Regions from separate parts of the Homo sapiens genome. Here all the other regions are linked to region 3. The links are contacts of gene promoters, found by promoter capture Hi-C in blood cells and fetal thymus (Javierre and others, 2016). All regions are on one chromosome and are shown on one strand. Each heading gives the region's core, a stretch centred on a gene start or on the middle of the fragment in contact. The rest is flanking DNA. Distances are from core to core; before and after follow the strand shown.

Region 1 (4,380 bases), core at 199-2,698, 240 kb after region 3:
TTTTCAAATAATCTATGTATTTGTTGTTGTTTTTTGTTGTTGTTGTTTTGTCTCATTCTATCAGCTGCCAAGAAGAAAGTTAAAATATCCAACTATGACTGTGGAATTATCTGTTTTTCCCTTAATTCTGTCAAGTTTTTCTCACTCATTTTGAAGCTCTGTTGTAAGACATGTACAACTTATGATTATTATGTTGTTTTGACAAATTGACCTTTTTATTGTGATGAAATGTCTCTCTGTTTCTGGTAATAATCTTTTCCTTGAAGTCTGCTTTATTTGATGTTAATATAGCCACTCCAGCGATCTTGAGCTTACTGTTTCCATAATATATCTTTTTCTACCTATTTACCCAAAACTCTTCATTATATTTAAATTGCTTTTGATGGTAGTATATAGTCGAGTATTGCTTTTTAAAAAATTCCTGGCCAGGCACAGTGACTCATGCCTGTAATCCCAGCACTTTGGGAGGCCGAGGCAGGCGGATCATCTGAGGTCAAGAGTTCAAGACCAGCGTGACCAACGTGGAGAAACCCCATCTCTACTAAAAATACAAAATTAGCCGGGCATTGTGGTGGGCGCCTGTAATCCCAGCTACTTAAAAGGCTGAGGCAGGAGAATCGCTTGAACCCGGGAGGTGGAGGTTGTGGTGAGCTGAGATCGCGACATCGCACTCCAGCCTGGGCAACAAGAGCAAAACTCCATCTCCAAAAAAAAAAATTCCTTCCAACAACATGGAAGTGGAATCTTTCAGTTATAATAATCATTGATCATATGCTAATGTCTGTCAAGAACTATGAAGAGTTTGAAGTTTTACCCTATTTATAGGCTGACAAGTTAACTTGGCATAGTTTAATGGCTTATGGTAGAAGTCATTGAAATGACTTGGTCATAGATGAAGAACGATGCACTGTGTCAGTAGCCAGACAGTCAGCATTTGCATCAGATTTCTGAGCTCCAGTTTGCATAGGTCATTGGGAAGAGGTCCAGGTGAAACCTGCACAAGTAGTGAAATCCCAAGCTTAGAGAAACTCAGATCTTTTATAATGGGTCATAAATACGCTTTTTGCTCTGGGACATGTCTTTCTTCCAGGACCCTTCACTATATAACTATCCTGAAAAGATTGGAACAAAGGCTTCCAGTGCTTCTCTTCTCAAGACAGGCAGAAAATCAAGAGACTCCATGGAGAGTTGTCTTCCAAAACTGTCTAGTGAATTTTCTCAGTTTCCCTTTTGTTATTTGCTTAAGTTTTTCTTTTGTTTCTTACATGGCTACAACCTAGCTTTCCAGCTTTATCTCTTCATTGTACTTCTCTATGGTTATATGTTATCACCAAATTAGATTACATACTCGTATCCTGTCTTTCCCCACGTCTTTGTTCTGGTGAATATGTGTGTGTGTAAGAAAACGCTTGGCTAGGCATAGTGGCTTCCACCTGTAATCCTAGCCCTTTTGGAGGCTGGGGCGGGCGATCACTTGAGTTCAGGAGTTTCAGACAAGCCTGGGCAACATAGTGAAACCCTGTGTCTACAAAAAATACAAAAAATTAGTTAGGTGTGGTAGTGCGCACCTGTAGTCCCAGCTACTTGGGGGGCTGAGGCAGAGGATAGTTTGAGCCCAGGAGGTCAAGGTTGTAGTGAGCTGAGATTGCGCCACTACACTCCAGCCTGGGTGACAAAGTGAGACTCTGTCTCAAAAAAAGAACAAAAGCAAAAAAGAACATTGAGCATTTACTATATGCCAATAAACATTTTACAATAACCCTGTGGGGTAGTTATTGTTATGTTGGTGTTATCCCCCTTTTACTGGTGAGGAACTGAGGCTTGGATTAAATTTCCCAAGTTTGTAATTAGGGAGGGACATATTATGGAGAAGCTTTTGTAGTAGTCTATTTCTTGACCTTAGTAATAATTACATGGAGTGTTTGCGTTAAAATTCTCTCTTTTTTTTGAGATGGAATCTCGCTTTGTTGCCCGGGCTGGAGTGCAGTGGTGTGATCTTGGCTCACTGAAACCTCCGCCTCAAGCGATTCTTGTGCCTCAGCCTCCCGAGTAGCTGAGATTACAGGTGCCTGCCACCGTGCTTTAAAATTCTTTAAACTGTTATTTAGAATTTTACATAATGTACTGTATAATTGATATAGTTCACAAAGAAAAGAAAAAGCAAACGCAGAGTAAGATGTGGAATCTGTGTGAAATCTTTACAGATAACTTCAGCCAATCTTTATCCTCTGTATCTATCCCGTTGCATTTATTGTTGGCGTCATAAGGTTTAGTAAGTGGCAGTGTTTATAAGGCACAGTATCCTGTGTAATATATATGTGTGTATGTGTGTGTGTGTATATATGTATATAATTATTATTTTTTTTGAGATGAAGTCTTGCTCTTGTTGCCCAGGATGGAGTGCAGTGGCGCGATCTCGGCTCACTGCAACCTCTGCCTCCTAGGTTCAAGTGATTCTCCTGCCTCAGCCTCTCGAGTAGCTGGGACTACAGGTGCCTGCCACCACATCTGGCTAATTTTTTTTTGTATTTTTAGTAGAGATGGGGTTTCACTATGTTGGCCAGGCTGGTCTCGAACTCCTGACCTCAGGCAATCCTCTGCCTTGACCTCCCAAAAGTGCTGGGATTACAGGTGTCAGCCACCACACCTAGCCTTTCTTTTTTTTTTTTTCTTTTTTTTTTTTTTTTGACGGAGTCTGTTGCCCCATGCTGGAGTGCTGTGACGTGATCACGGCTCACTGCAGCCTCAACCTCTCACCTCATCCTCCCAACTAGCTGGGAGTACCTGGGACCACAGGTGTGTGCCACCAGGCCCAGCTAATTAAAATACGTTTTTTCGTAGAGACAGGGTCTCACCATGTTGCCAAGGTTGGTCTTGAACTCCTGGGCTCAACAGTCCCCCAGCCTTGGCTTCCCAAAATGCTGGGATTATAGTTGTGAGCCACCGAGCCTCACCCAGTGTGTAGTGTTTGAAATTAATTGTCCCAAGGCCAAACAGCTAGTAAATGATAGAGCCAGAATTTGAACTTAGGCTGTTTCAGAACCCAGTCTCTAAATTTCTTAAAAGGCCATTTTTCTCTCAGCCTCATTTCTGCATGTTGAAATACTTTGCATTTTGAAGTTTATTTTAGGGAGATTTGATTTTCTTCCCTATTCCATTATGTAATAATTATCTTGGGTAGGACATTACTTTCTGGAGTCCTCGATTTTCTCATTTTTAAGATGGGAATACAGTTTAGAGTCTTTTTTTTATTTTTAGAAAAATTGACTTATTTTTAAATGGACAAATTATGTTTATGGTGAATAACTTTGGTATATGTGTACATTATGGAATGGCTAAATCATGCTAATTAATTAATATATACTTTTCTTCACATATTTATTTGGTGTGGTGAAAACACTTAAAATCTGTTCTCAGCATTTTCAAGTATCCAATATACATTGCTATTAACTATAGCTATCATGTGGTGCAATAGATCTCTTGAACTTATTCCTCCTGTCTAATGAAAATTTGTATACTTTTTTTGGGGGAGAGGAGGAAAGCAGTCTTGTTCTGTTGCCTAGGCTGGATGGCAGTGGTACGATCGATCTCGGCTCACTGCAACTTCTGCCTCCTGGGTTCAAGTGATTCTCATGCCTCAGCCTCCTAAGTAGCTGGGACCTCAGGCGCGTGCCACCGTGTCCAGCTAGTTATTATTTTTGATATGGAGTCTTGCTCTGTCGCCCAGGCTGGAAGGCAGTGGTGCGATTTTGGCTCACTGTAGCCTGTGCCTCCGGGGTTCAAGCGTTTCTACTTCGTCAGCCTCCTAAGTAGCTGGGATTACAGATGAGTGCCACCATGCCCTGCTAATTTTTGTATTTTTAGTAGAGATGGGGTTTCACCATGTTGGCCAGGCTGGTCTCGAACTCCCGACCTCAGGTGATCTGCCCGCCTTGGCCTCCCAGAGTGCTAGGATTACAGGACTGATCCACTGGGCCTGGTGAAAATTTGTATCTGTTTGATCAGTGTCTTCTTAATCCCCATCCCTGCTCCCATCCCTGGTAACCACCATTCATTATTCTCTGTGCTTCTATGAATTGAGCATTTTTTAGTATTTTATATTTTATTAATTAATTTATTTTTTGAGACAGAGTCTCACTGTGTCGCCTAGGCTGGACTGCAATGGCACAATCTCGGCTCACTGCAACCTCCACCTCCTAGGTTCCAGCGATTCTCCTGCCTCAGCCTCCTGAGTAGCTGAGATTACCAGTGCACACCACCATGCCCGGCTAATTTTTGTATTTTTAGTAGAGACGGGGTTTCACCATGTTAGTCAGGCTGGTCTTGAACCCCTGACCTTGAGATCCGCCCGCCTCGGCCTCCCAAAGTGTTGGGATTACA
Region 2 (3,920 bases), core at 1,154-3,653, 200 kb after region 3:
TGATCTCAGTGTGCCATAGTCCTGTGTTCCATCCAGTAAACACACTGCTTCCTAGGATTAATGTCTCCCTGCAGAAAGGAAAAGCAAGTTGGAATGTCATTTTGTGTGTGTGAACTGTAAAATGAGTTTGAGTACATTTCAAATTTGCTCTTTCTTGCCCTTTTTTTGCCATCTAATAGTCATGGCCAACTCATCCATTAGGTACAGCTAGCACAGTATCTAGGGACCGAGATACTTTTAAGGGCCTGCAGAATGTTTTAATTTTAATTTCTTTTAAAATCAGAATAAATAAAAATAAATAAATAATAATAAACATATAAAAAGAATCCAGTGTACTTAAAGCCACTGAACTGTATGGTTAAAAATGGTTAAAATGGGAAATGTTATGTATATTTTACCACAATAAAAAAAAAGAAACCAGCATGGATTATATTCATCTTTATACCAATGCAGTTATAAAATATAATTTTTAATATTTATTATGGAGGGAAGGGCCCACAGATTCAAAACTGCCCAAAGCTCATGAATGTTATCATTTGGCCCTGTTAGTAGTTGGTTAATTCATATCAAGGAGAAGTTTTGTATTTATGGACCAAATCATATGGACTGCACTTCTCTCACTTCTTCGTGGCCTAACCAGGAAGGTTACACAGCATGACCCAGATTCCTACCACGTGCCACCTGGTGACAGCTACACAGACTGTTCAGGGGAGATGCTGAGTACAGTGGTTCTGAGAGACTTGTTAGTTTTGGTCTCTGCACAGCAGGTCCTGCCTTATTTAGCACAGTGAAGCTAGACACTCTGAGGTAGTCAATTTTACTCCAAAGGGCATTTCTCATGCTTCTCTTTATTAACAAATCTCTCTCTCTTTGGACTACCAAAACAGTCTTCTGGCAGATCTCCCTGACTTGGCTTTTCTCCTACCCAAACCAGAATTATCTTTGCAAACATATATCTCCCTGGAATAAAGTTATTTAATGACTTCCAACATTTTCATTATTTCAGAAAGCTTGATAGAAATCCCGCTTTAACTCATGAGAGTGCTTTTAAAAGTAACTAAAAAACTGCTTTAGTTTGTGCTAGAATTATACCAGCATGGTTACTACAATTAATAAATTTTGAGGACACAAATTAATTATTTTCCAGACGCATAGTTTGTGTTGCAATGAGGTCTTACACCCATGGATCCTTGGGAGAAAGATCATGAATGGATCCTTGGAAGTGAAAAAGTATGGAGATCCCTAGAAATGTCTCAGCTGTCTGCCTGACCATTCTGGGAGGACAGTATCACTCTGGTCAAAGAGAAATTACTGACTAGCTGACTATGGTACAGAAGGTGGGGGAAGATGAAGAAACATCACATTAAAATTCAGTGCAAAGTGAAAGCTTGTCTTGAGCAAGGGTGAATGACTCAGCAAGAAATTGTTTACAGGATTTTAGTTTCTGCTCTCTGCAATTCTTATATTAAATAAAAAGCGGATTTTCATTATCTACTTGAAGTAATTCCATTACTCACCAGATAACAAATAAGCAACAAACACACTTCCTAGGATATTTTTTTAATCCTAAAGTGAAAGCAGTGCTTAGAATCACAAATGCTTGGCATGTATGGTCATTAACAAAAATTTGGTCTTTGGCAGAGTGAAAGCTTTGGTTTTTAAGTTCAGTTCCGCTTGTTTATCGTTGTAGTGCATAGTTATCATTCCACATTCCTACATTCAATCCCCTTTCTTCTGGTAACAGTCATACACACACACACACACACACACACACACACACACACACTCTTTCACACGCACAAATTTTCTTGGGAAAAAAATATTTTTTTTCCACATTTGGAATATCCTTCAAGACTCCCATAGGCTTTGGAGGGCACCAAGTCCTGTGCTCTCTGCTACTACTCCTTTGAATATCAGAGTGATCACATGTTCCATTCAAAACAAAATCGGGCAGGGCGCAGTGGCTCACTCCTGTAATTCCCAGCACTTCGGGAGGCTGAGGCAGGCAGATCACTTGAGGTCAGGCATTCGAGACCAGTCTGGCCAACACAGTGAAATCCCATCTCTTTTTTTGTATCTAAAAAACTACAAAAATTAGCCAGGTGTGGTGGCATGCGTCTGTAGTCCCAGTTATTCAGGAGGCTGAGACAAGAGAATTGCTTGAACCTGGGAGGCAGAGGTTGCAGTGAGCCAAGATCGTGCCACTGCTCTCCAGCCTGGGCAACAGAGTAAAACTCTGTCACACACACACACAAAAATAAATAAATAAAATAAAATAAGTTTATCATGACTGTAATCCCAGCACATTGGGAAGCACAGGCAGGCAGATCACTTGAGGTCAGAAGTTTGAGACCAACCTGGCCAACATGGTGAAACCCCATCTCCACTAAAAATACAAAAATTTGCTTGGCATGGTGGCGGGCACCTGTAATCCCAGCTACTAACTAGGGAGGCTAAGGCAGGAGAATCACTGCCTTAGATGGAGGTTGAGGTTGCAGTGAGCCAAGATCATGCCACTACACTTCAGCCTGGGTAACAGAATGAGACTCCATCTCAAAAAAGAAAAAGAAAAAAAGAAAAAAGAAATTGAGACAGGATGACAGGATGAGGGCCAGCTTCTGTGCTGACCTATCAGCTCTGCCTCTTGGCCACATACATGCAAGCTGAGAGCAGCCGTTTTGGCTGCACGTCGTAAATTCAGGCTGGGCTGCACTCACTCAGGTCCCTTGTTGGCACTATATTTCTTCCATTTCAAGGATTCAAACACACACACACTCAGTCCATTCTTTCCTTGATTTATTTTCGTAATACAAGTAAATGAATTATTTTGAATATTGGGGTTATAGTACTAAACAAACCAAAGTCCTCCATGAAACATTCAGTAATTCAGGTTTATGAGGTGTAGATGGGCATATTACCTGGTTTGTCCCTAAGAAACACTTAGCCACTCCTTCAATGACTGGTTCAGAAATGTGTCTTGGATGAAGTTCCCTAGAAGCAGAGCCTGAGGCAAGGATTCAGATGTAAGAAAGGCAGGGAATGCTCTTAGAGAAACCTGTAAGGGAGCAAGATAGAGAAGGAGAAGGAGCCAAGTAACGACCTGATGTCAGGTAAAATCTAGTCTTGGTCTGGTTTTGTGTGTGGAGAGGGAAGCTTGCCTCTGGAACACAAATTACACTACAGAGTTGTTTCTGCCTTGAAGCAAGGAGGTTAGCCTGTTAAGAAACTCCATATCTATTAGTTATTAGTCTATATATTGAGACAGTGTAACTTCCCCGGCATCCCTAGGCTAGGAGGCTTTTGACAACCTAAAACACCTCTCATAAACCAAGGTCACAGGTTTAAACTGCTGGCCACAGCCTCAAAATAGCTGCAGGGAGTGGGGGAAAGGGTAAAGAATGGAAGGGGTGCACCAGCTGATAAAAGGGATCTGAGTGGAGTGCCAAAACATCCACTACTGCATGTGTCCCAACCAAGTTAATCTTAGACAATGAGATTTAATTCTGCAACTTCTTCTGGAACCATGAGGGAAAATAATCTTTCCTTTTGCTCACCGTGAAATTAGTACAATGCCTGCCTGCAGCTGCTTGAGCCCGTTTTGGGAACAGCCAACTGAGAAGAAAAGAAGAGTAATATAGAGAGGCAGAGTCCCGGTGACGGTGACTCTAATTAGTGTTCTTTTCTCTGCATACCAGTTTGTTCTGCACCTCAATATGTCCAATTCCCTTTAGAATCCATCAGTTTGGCCGGGCGCGGCGGCTCACGCCTGTAATCCCAGCACTTTGGGAGGCCGAGGTGGGTGGATCACGAGGTCAGGAGATCGAGACCATCCTGGCTAACACGGTGAAACCCCGTCTCTACTAAAAATACAAAAAATTAGCCGGGCGAGGTGGCGGGCGCCTGTAGTCCCAGCTACTCAG
Region 3 (3,937 bases), core at 112-2,611:
GTTTCTTGGATTCATCATCTCCTTCCCATCCCCTTCCAAACTCTTGGGATCAGTAGGAGTATTACAACCCCCTCCTCACTCTTCCCCTGTCCTGCAGGCTTGCCCTACTCTGGTTCACTTTCCACACAGCAGCCAGAGTGTTGCTTTGTAAGATAGACCTGGTCGGCCGGGCGCCATGGCTCATGCCTGTAATCCCAGCACTTTGGGAGGCCGAAGTGGGCAGATGACTTGAGGTCAGGAGTTCCAGACCAGCCTGGAAAACATAGTGAAACCCTGTCTCTACTAAAAATACAAAAATTAGCCAGGCATGGTGGTGCACGCCTGTAGTCCCAGCTACTCAGGAGGCTGAGGCAGGAGAATCACTTGAACCCAGGAGACAGAGGTTGCAGTGAGCTGAGATCACGCCACTGCACACCAACCTGGGTGACAGAGTGAGACTCCGTATCAAAAAAAAAAAGAGATAGACCTGGTCTAGATCCTCTCCTCTTTCATTGGCTACCCTCTACTGACTTGGTCAAGCTTCGTGTCAAAGCCCTTCACCACATGATCAACTGCTTCCCTACCCCCTGCCCATCAGCCCTTGCCTCTCCTGTTCCGCAAACACACATGTCCTTTTATACAATGACCAGTGCTTGTACTCAGCCACATTTGGCCACCTATCTGGATTCCTCTATTACTTCTTTCTCAATCCTTTTCCAGGTACTACTCCAAAAGAAAAGTTATTTATTTCCCACAGAAGTCATTACAGAAGGGCAATTTTCTGGTGGCTCTGTTAAGTGTATAAATCCTCTTGCACAACAAAGCTGCTTACGTGGGCAGTAAATATGCAGTTAATGAGGCCTCAAGTGGGAGGCACAATTTATGGAGGCACAATCAGAGTAGGGAGCAGCAGTCCTGGTGCCACCTCTTCACTTCCAGAGCAGCTTTCCTTCCAGGTTCCCAATGTCAGCATCCCCAACACCTGCACACCCTGACACAGACAGTCAGGAATGACTTGAGTAGTCAAAGGGCATGACAGAGAGCAGCATGTAGAAAGCAGTTGGCAATTTTTCAAATATACCAGTAAGGGTTGTTTGTGTTCACAATACTCTGGCTTTGCAGGACTATTCTGATGCTAAAAAGAGTCTAGAAAGTTTAGGTGAACATGGTTCCTAAAGGAGGGGCTGGTTGGGGTGGGAGTGTAAGGAGAGAAGTGCCTTACTTGAGTTTCTATTAAAGGGATGCTTCAGGATGCTCCAGGCTGAGGTCTGTGAGCCCAATGTGGCCCTGACACGAAGGTTGTATGGCACAGTGGCCGTGATGTCATCAGTGACATCACACTCAGGACCTTCAGTGAGTGAGCACCAGCTGCTGGGGATCCAGATGTGGCTCGTGTACAGGCTCTCGTACTCCCTGTCAAAGAGAGGAGGGCACAGAGTTACACCAGCCCCTCTGACACAGGCTCAGTTATGGTTGCAAGTAACTGACTTCGTTCACCTACTTTGTACAGGTAAGTAAAATAAGTACTTTCTCATTATCCTAGCTCCTCCACTCTCCTCCCTACCAACCATCCATCGTCCCTTACTCCTTTTATTGCCAGATAGGGAAAGCTAGGCATAAACATCAATGTGTCTGGATCTCTTTTATCTCTTCATCTCCAGGGTCATCACCCTAATCTCAGCCACTGTCATTCCTTGCCTTGCTGTGATCTCCCAGCTTGGACACCTGCCATTCTCAAAACCATTCACCACTCAGCAGATTGTGACGTTTCTCTCCTTAATGGCTTCCTACAGGACTTAGAATGGGATCCAAACTCTTGCCAGTGGTCTTACAAGATGCTTTGGCCTTCTCTCTCACTCTGCTCCGAAGCGTGATATTCTTGCCACATTGGTCATTTCTCCAAAATGCTGAGCACTTTTTGCCTTAGGACCTTTGACTAACTGTTCACTCCATCTCAAACGCTCTGCCCCTGCTGTTCGCATGGCTGGCTCCTCTTGTCCTTCAGATATGGCATAAATATCACCTCCTCAGAGAGGCCATCCCAGGCCATCTAATATAAAGGAGCCTCAGTGTCAACTCTCTATGGCATCAGCCTTTTAGCTTCCTCCTAGCACTGATTACTATCCAAAATTCCCTAGAGCAGTGCTTTCCAAAAATAAACTTTCTGTGATGATGCAAATATTCTAAATCGATGTTGTTCAATATGGTAACCACTGGCCACATGTGGCTATTGAACACCTAAAATGTGACTAGTGTGGCAGGAAACAGACATTTTAATTTAATTTAATTTAATTTAATTTAATTTAAATTTAAATAGCCAGCTGTGGCTGGTGGCTACCATACTAGAGAATGCTGGCCTAGTATATTTATCATCTGTATCCTCCTCTAGATGTAAGCTCTCAAAATCCAGAAACCTTGTCAACTGTATCCCTGAGCCTAGAAGAATGTCTACACATGTAGGTGTTCAGTCTGTATTCATTGTTAATGAAATATATGGAGCAATTTCTGTGTCCTTATCACTATTCAATAGCTGCAAGCACCTGAACACCTGGAGAAGACTAGAGCCTGCTCAGCCCCAGGGCCAGCTGACCTTTAGGATTATAGTTCGTTTTGGCTCTAGGTATAAGCTTATAGTCAGGAAAAGTGAGGACTCCTCCACCCTTAAAGGATCTGAGTCTCCAGTGATTTATCCATCTCAAGTCAGAGTCAAACCCATTGGACAGTTGATTCACTTTTTAAAATAACTCCACCAAAATGTGTTATGCACATTCATCTTCCCAGAGAGTTCACTGTCAAATCCACAGAACAATTTCCCTTGCTTCTTCAACTCTTTCAATGCCTATGCAGACAGAGGGGGTAGATCTTTGGGGATAATCTATCCCTGGACTCAAAAAGCCACCTTGGGCTCAGGAGGAAGGGCTATGCCTTCAGGAACCAACTTCTGCTTAAGGGAGAAGAACTATTAAAAGAAAAAACTCACCCCTGGTATTCGACAGAATAGTACACTGTTTCTCCAGGCGCGATCACTGGGCTCCACATCAAGAGATGCTTCATGTTGGTTGAGAGTACAGAGAGGTTCTGAGGGGCAGGCAGAATGGCCACTTCATCTAGGATCAAGGCAGATAGCCTGGCTGACAGGTGGGCTCATAGTGGGGGAATGCCATAGCTTCAAATTAGTGTCTAATGAAGGGCCTCACTGGCGGAGGTTGCAGTAAGCTGAGATTGCACCACTGCACTCCAGCCTAGACAACAGAATGAGACTCTGTCTCAAAAAAAAAAAAGCCTCACATGTTTATAAACCAGAAACAACTCTAATTTTATCATGCTTATGTTAACACTAAATTTTGGGTACCACCATTATAATTCTGACTTTGTTGATAAATGACATATCAATATTAATAATAATAATGACTAATATTTATCTAATACTTACCATGTTCTATCTAGACCATGTGCTGGATTGTTACATGACTGTCTTATTGAATTCTCATGACCATACTGGGAGGTAAAGACCATTAGTTTTTCCATTGTACAAATGAGAAAACTGAGTCACATTATTTATGACTCTTCTGTTAGACTGGCTAGGATCCAGTGACTCTGCCACTTACTATGTGGCTTTAAGCAAGTTGCATAAACGTGAGCCTCTTAATCATTCATGGAAAACCAATGCAGACTACTGCAACATTCTCATCACCTCCCTCTCCTGCTACTGCCATCCTCAGATGCCAAAGCAATCGTTTCATGTCCCTCAACAAGGCCAAATGGGTCATCAGTTGCCAGGTGGGAAGTACAGGCTCAGATCTGCTGTGGAGAGAGTCCATTCAAGTGGGACACCAAGCCAGCTCTGTGAGTCCACCCCGGAAAGACTGCAGGCCCCTGAGCCAGTCTGGGACACAAGTATGCCCCGAGTGTACCCAGACACAGTGTGCCCAGAGTATGCACACAGTGGGACTATGAT

Evidence for each region. The method cuts DNA at HindIII sites, captures the fragments that hold promoters and counts their contacts. A CHiCAGO score of 5 or more calls a contact.
Region 1: a contact is called between a fragment that was not itself captured here and the fragment with the promoter of IL20RB-AS1 in region 3, in 1 of 17 cell types (fetal thymus). The highest score is 5.2, in fetal thymus.
Region 2: a fragment that was not itself captured here is called in contact with the fragment with the promoter of IL20RB-AS1 in region 3 in 6 of 17 cell types (non-activated CD4 T cells, naive CD8 T cells, endothelial precursors and 3 more); the score reaches 6.2 in non-activated CD4 T cells.

The regions. Positions count from the first base shown.
Region 1 is chr3:136,737,811-136,742,190 of GRCh38, reverse strand. All of the region lies in intron 1 of STAG1 (STAG1 cohesin complex component), which reads left to right. Among named protein-coding and RNA genes, the nearest start is that of STAG1, 12 kb to the left of the region's middle. The HindIII fragment of the contact is 855 bases long and covers 1,021-1,875 here.
Region 2 is chr3:136,784,412-136,788,331 of GRCh38, reverse strand. No RefSeq gene overlaps it. Among named protein-coding and RNA genes, the nearest start is that of SLC35G2, 33 kb to the left of the region's middle. The HindIII fragment of the contact is 1,504 bases long and covers 1,652-3,155 here.
Region 3 is chr3:136,979,615-136,983,551 of GRCh38, reverse strand. It overlaps IL20RB-AS1 (IL20RB antisense RNA 1), which reads left to right and starts at 1,361. Exons shown (of 4, transcript NR_183729.1): 1 at 1,361-1,489; 2 at 3,702-3,937. It overlaps IL20RB (interleukin 20 receptor subunit beta), which reads right to left. Exons shown (of 7, transcript NM_144717.4): 2 at 2,960-3,086; 3 at 1,202-1,392. The HindIII fragment of the contact is 2,087 bases long and covers 522-2,608 here.